Linked DNA regions of Homo sapiens: region 1 is linked to region 2. The links are contacts of gene promoters, found by promoter capture Hi-C in blood cells and fetal thymus (Javierre and others, 2016). All regions are on one chromosome and are shown on one strand. Each heading gives the region's core, a stretch centred on a gene start or on the middle of the fragment in contact. The rest is flanking DNA. Distances are from core to core; before and after follow the strand shown. Region 1 has its middle 56 kb from the start of MIR4422. Region 2 holds the start of PRKAA2 (protein kinase AMP-activated catalytic subunit alpha 2).

The links. Contacts are between HindIII fragments. The CHiCAGO score rates a contact against its expected background, and 5 or more counts as called.
Region 1: a contact is called between a fragment that was not itself captured here and the fragment with the promoter of PRKAA2 in region 2, in 1 of 17 cell types (fetal thymus). The highest score is 5.3, in fetal thymus.

Annotation. Positions count from the first base shown.
Region 1 is chr1:55,280,158-55,283,031 of GRCh38, reverse strand. No RefSeq gene overlaps it. Among named protein-coding and RNA genes, the nearest start is that of MIR4422, 56 kb to the right of the region's middle. The HindIII fragment of the contact is 1,705 bases long and covers 463-2,167 here.
Region 2 is chr1:56,643,756-56,646,613 of GRCh38, reverse strand. It overlaps PRKAA2 (protein kinase AMP-activated catalytic subunit alpha 2), which reads right to left and starts at 1,300. Exons shown (of 9, transcript NM_006252.4): 1 at 1,133-1,300. The coding sequence starts at 1,226. It overlaps LOC101929935 (a long non-coding RNA gene), which reads left to right and starts at 1,296. Exons shown (of 3, transcript NR_135111.1): 1 at 1,296-1,396. The HindIII fragment of the contact is 10,307 bases long and covers 1-2,858 here.

The sequences.
Region 1 (2,874 bases), core at 66-2,565, 1.4 Mb after region 2:
TAACATTTACTAAAATACACTGAACCTACTAAATTACACATATGGGCCTCCCCCATGAGGCTGAAGTCCTTCAGCCACTACTCTGGCCAACACACACACGCCTACCTACACACCTTCTCTGGCAGAATATCCCACTTATCCTTCAGTTTTATGCTTACAATCATTCTGCAGGCAGCCTGCCTAAATGTCAGGTGTTCCTGTTATTTCCACCCATATTAACCTGTATTTCCCTTGTTTCAGCACTTGTCAAACTATCTGCAATATGTTCTCTGATGACAGTGGAATTAATCTAAAAGTCCATATAACATGTGAAAATTAAGAAACACTTGATTATATTCAGTAACAATAGCTACTGTTTATTGAGCTTTGTGCCAGGCACTATACTAAGCACTTATATAAATACAAACATGCACAAACGCACATGCATACATCTACAATCTCATTTACTGACTACTCCAAGCTTCTTAGGTGGTTGGTGTCACTTTTTCATTCTATAAGAGGTAGGGGTGGGAGCCTGCAGGGAATCAGCCTTGGAGAGTTTAAGTGATTTGCCCCAACCCATGCAGATATATATGTAGCAAAACCAGAATTTGAACCCAGATCTGTGAGTCTCCATCTCACTATACTATCCTGCCTCAGTGCAGCATGGGTTAGACTCACAGCTTTGTACAAGAACAAGAGACCCTATAAGAACAAGCTCAACACAGGAAAGTGGCATTCCTTCCCTCTTCTTACTGTCACTTCAATTACAGACATCTCTTGGAGATATTGCAGGTTCAGGTCCAGGCCACTGCAATAAAGTGAATATCACAATAAAGTGAGTCACATGAATTTTTTAGTTTCCCAGGGCATATAAAATTATGTTACTATAATCTAGTACGTGTGCAATAGTATTATGTCTACAACAATGTACACACCTTAATTTAAAAATATTTCATTGCTAAAAAATGTTAATGATCATGGGAGCCTTTAGTGACTTGTAATCTTTTTGCTGATGGAGGTTCTTGGGGTGGCTGGGGCAGTTTCTTAAAATAAGACAACAATGAAGTTTGCCACATTGATCGACTCTTCCTTTCACAAAAGACCTCTCTGTTGCATATGATGCTGTTTGATAGTACTTTACCCACAGGGAAACTTCCTTCAAAATTGGCATCAGCCAGGTATGGTGGCACGCAAATGTAATCCCAGCTACATGGGAGGTTGAGGTGGGAGGATCTCTTGAGCACAGGAATTCCAGACCCTGTCTTTCAAAAAAAAAAAAAATAGAGTCAGTCCTCTCAAACCCTGCCACTGCTTTATCAACTAAGTTTATGTAATAGTGTAGATCCTTTGTTGTCATTAAAACAATGTTCACAGCATCTTTACCAGGAGTAGATTCCATCTCAAGAAACATCTTTCTTTGCTTATCCATAAGAAAAGTAAGTCCTCATCCTTGCAAGTTTTATCATGAGATTGCAGCAATTCAGTCACATCTTCAGGCTCCACCTCTAGCTCTCTTGTTATTTCCACCACACCAGCAGTTCCTTCATCCACTGAAGTCTTCAACCCCTCAAAGTCATCCATGAGGGTTGGATTCAACTTCTTCTAAACTCCTGTTAAGGTTGATATTTTGACCTCTTCCTATGAGTCACAAATGTTCATAATGACGTCTAAAATGGTGAATCCTTTCCGGAAGTTTCTCTATTTACTTTGCTCAGATCCATTAGGAAAAAAAAAAGCTATCTATAGCCTCATGAAATGTATGTCTTAAATAATAAGACTTGAAAGTTGAAATTACTTCTTGATCCGTATGTCTTAAATAATAAGGCTTGAAAGTTGAAATTACTTCTTGATCCATGGTCTGCAGAATGGGTGTTTGTGTTAGCAGGCATGAAAACAATATTCATCTCTGTGTACATCTTCATCAGAGCTCTTGGGTGATCAAGTGCACTGTGAATGAGCAGTAATATTTTGAAAGGAGTTTTTGTTTCAGAGTAGTAGGTCTAAGTTGGCTTAAAATATTCAGTAAAACATGCCGTTAACAGATGTGCTGTCATCCAGGCTTTGTTATTCCATGTACAAAGCACAGGCACTGCAGATTTAGCAGAATGTTTAAGGTGCCTAGGATCTTTAGAATGAGTCACCATCTGCACTAGCCCCTAACGAGAGTCAGCTGCCCTTTGAAGCTTTGAAGCCAGGCATTGACTTCTTCTGTATAGCTATGAAAGATGGTATCTTCTTCCAATAGAAGGCTATTTTGTCCACATTAAAAACATGTTGTGTGATGTAGCCACTTTCATCAATTATCTTAGCTAGATCTTCTGGATAACTTGCTGCAACTTCTCCATCAGCACTTGCTGCTTCACCTTCGACTTTGATGTTATGGAGACGACTTCTTTCCTTAAGCCTCATGAAGCAACCTCTGATAGCTTTGAACTTTTCTTCTGCAGCTTTCTTGCCTCTCTCAGCTTCCATAGAATGGAAGAGAGTTAGGGTCTTGCTCTGGATTAAGCTTTGGCTTAAGGGAATATTGTGGCTGGTTTGATCTTCTATTGAAACCACTAAAACTTTTTCCATATCAGCAATAAGTTTATCTTTTTTTTTTTTTTTTTTTTTGCTTTCTTATCACTCATGTATTCACTGGCACAGAACTTTTAATTTCCTTCAATAAATTTTCCTTTGCATTCATAATGTGGCTAACTGGCACAAGAGGCCTAGCTTTCAGCCTGTGTTGGCTTTCGTGATGCCTTCCTCACTAAGCTTTATCATTTCTAGCTTTAGATTTAAAGTTAGAGATGCACAACTCTTTCTTTCACTTGAACACTAAGAGGCCATTGTAGGGTTATCAATTGGCCTAATTTTAATATCATTGAGTCTCAGGGAATAGGGAGGCCC
Region 2 (2,858 bases), core at 51-2,550:
TGCAACAAAGTATTTTTAATAAACAACTGTCTCTATTCTGGAGAGAAGGCAGGTTAATTAAATCACATGTGACTAATTAACAAAAAAGAAAACAAATGAAAGTTCCATACTTAACTATTCTTACTAGTTACTTAACTCGAATAAAGTATAACATTTCAAAAGCAGCCTGTTTTTCTACATTCAAAAGGGGATCCTATCTCCATGAAGACAGACCTTAGCAGAATATGCCTTAGCAGTCCTGACCTCCTCAGCCTCAAATCCTCCAAACACCAAGGAAACTTTTTCTCTCCCTTACCCTAGAAGTCTTCCCATAGCCATTTTACAAACACAAACACCTTCAGACCTCTCTGTTTTAATTAACCTCTGACCCAATCCAGCTGCATTCCAGCGTTAAACAACACCCCAGGAAGAAAGACTCACAACCTCTGGCCCCTGGAGCATCCCCCAAACAGTCACCCCCAACAACCGAGAGTCCTGGAACGTGAAGGAATCTGGGGATGGCAGGGACCTCCCAGCAAGACCAGAATTGGAGGACATCTTAGACTTCACTCTGGTACTGACCATTTCTGTGTGACCTTGGGCTTGTTACTACATCTCTAGGGGTCCTAGTTTTCTCACCTTTAGGGTGAGGACAACATGTTGACCAAGTCACTGTGAGGATTCAATGAGATTCCATGTAAAGCACCTAACAGGGCACCCGGCACGAAACGGCGCCTCAGTCCTCAGTAGCGTGGATGATCCCCGCCCTAAGCCTACAGGCTCAGAGCTGGAAGGCGCCTCGCAGAACGAGTCCAGTTCTCCCGATTTTGCAGAGGAGGACACTGAGGTCCAGAGAACACAGAAGTGCCTTGCTCCGACCTCCAGAAAGGCAGATGGGCGCGGAACCTGGAACCCAGGACGCCCATCCTCAGCTCACACCCCCGCCCTCTTCCCTGGACCCTGTGGGGCCCGGGCGCCGGTGCCAGGCGAGGCGGTGCGCGCCACCCTCCCGGGGCCCCAGCTCCGCGCGACCCGGGACCGCTCCACCTGCCGCCGAGCCCCGCGCCCGCCGGAGGCCCGGGGCTCCCGCCTCTCCCCTCGGCCTCCCGCAAGTCAGGCAGCCCCGCACAGCGGTCCGGAGCGCGTACTCAACTCTTCACTTTGCCGAAGGTGCCGACGCCCAGCGTGTCGCCCAGCACGTAGTGTCCGATCTTCACCCGCCCGTCGTGCTTCTGCTTCTCAGCCATCTTCGGCGCGCGCGGCCTCGCTCCACCGCCTGCCGCTCCGCGTAGCCGCCGCCGCCGCCGCCTACCCACAGTGCAGCGGGCCCTGCGGGCGAGGGGGCGGACCCCGAGCCGCGAGGGGCGCGGGGCGGGCGCGGGGTCCCGGGAGAGGGCGCTGGGCGCTTCGGGCCCAGGTGGGAAGCAACGGGCGAGCGGCGGGCGGGGCGGGGCCGAGGGAGGGAGCGCGAGGCGCCCGCTCCCGGGAGTGAGAGGCTCCTGCGGCGGAACCCGAAGCAGCGACAGCGGGGGCCGGGGACGCGGGGCGCTGGGCGGGAGTGCGGGAGGGGCTGCGCCAGATGCGCGGGGTCCGAGTGAGGGGCGGAGGCGACAGGTGCTGCGAGGGGGGTAGGCGAGGGTGCCGAGGGAGGCAGGAGGCCCTTTCTGAGGAAAACCGAAGGGGGTGAAAATAGGGGGTGAGACTGGGGCCCGATCCTAGGGAATGGAAAGACTTGGAAGTCAAACTGGAAGAAGAGACGGGCCTCGCATGTCGGGAGCGAGGGGCTGTAAAAGGGAAGAATCGGGAGGGGAGACTGCGGGAAGGGCCCTGGCCAAAGGGGCAGTGGCAGGAGAGCCTCTAGGAAGCTCCTCAAGTCTCGTCTGAGGCTTTTGGATACAGGTCGCGGCACAGGGAGAATGCACGCAGCTCTGTGCTCTCTTGAATTGTCCTCCTCTACTTATTCTGTAATTCCCAATTATTTTGTCCTATAGATGGAAGAGACCCTCTCCGCCAGAGCTCTCAATTTTAACTAATTTGCCCACAGTTTTCCAAAAAATCTCAGTCACGGTATTTGCTCGAGTGTTTTTTAGCACATGCTTATATAAATATGTAGTTTTACCACGCGCTTATATAAACATATAGTACCGAAATGTGATACAGCTGTACAAGAAGGAAATGGGAAAGACGTGGAAAGGGAAACAATGTTCTGCCCACAGAAAGTAAAATACGTAAGCGACAGAGGAATTGTGAAGGGCGAGGCCAGTATAAGGTCACATATTAAAGGAAGAATAAATGTGATATAGAAGTGAAAAGAGTGGTAAGAGGAAATTAGAAGCATGATGCCTAGGCAGCGTGTTCAAAGACTGACCTCCCCACCCTCCCCCACAAAAAAAAAGAAAAAAGACTGGCAAAGAATTAGGTAATAAAGCGATTATCTCTGCCTCTCTTCCTTCTCTCCCGCCCTTCCTTCCCTCCTTCCTTCCTTCCTTTAATGTTGTCTCATTCTTTAATGTTGTTCTGTCTTTCAGTGATTAAAGTTTATTTGCTTCTCACCACACACACAAAAAGATTCGTATACAATATGTTTGTTAATTAGCTTGACTTATAGCCATTCCACAATCAATATATTTCAAAACATATACATACTAAATATATACAATTTTTATTTGCCAATGAAATAAAAAATTTTAAAACAGTAAAAAAAAATTCTGTTTGGGGATAAGTAATTAAGGATTAGTCAAACATTTATAGCACTGCATGCCAGTAGAGTTTCAAGGTCACATTCCTCAAACATGAAGTCTCTTGAACACTGTTTATATGTAAATTGAAATGTATTGATCAAAAAGAATAGGACACAACAAAACTTTGTTTTCTGATAA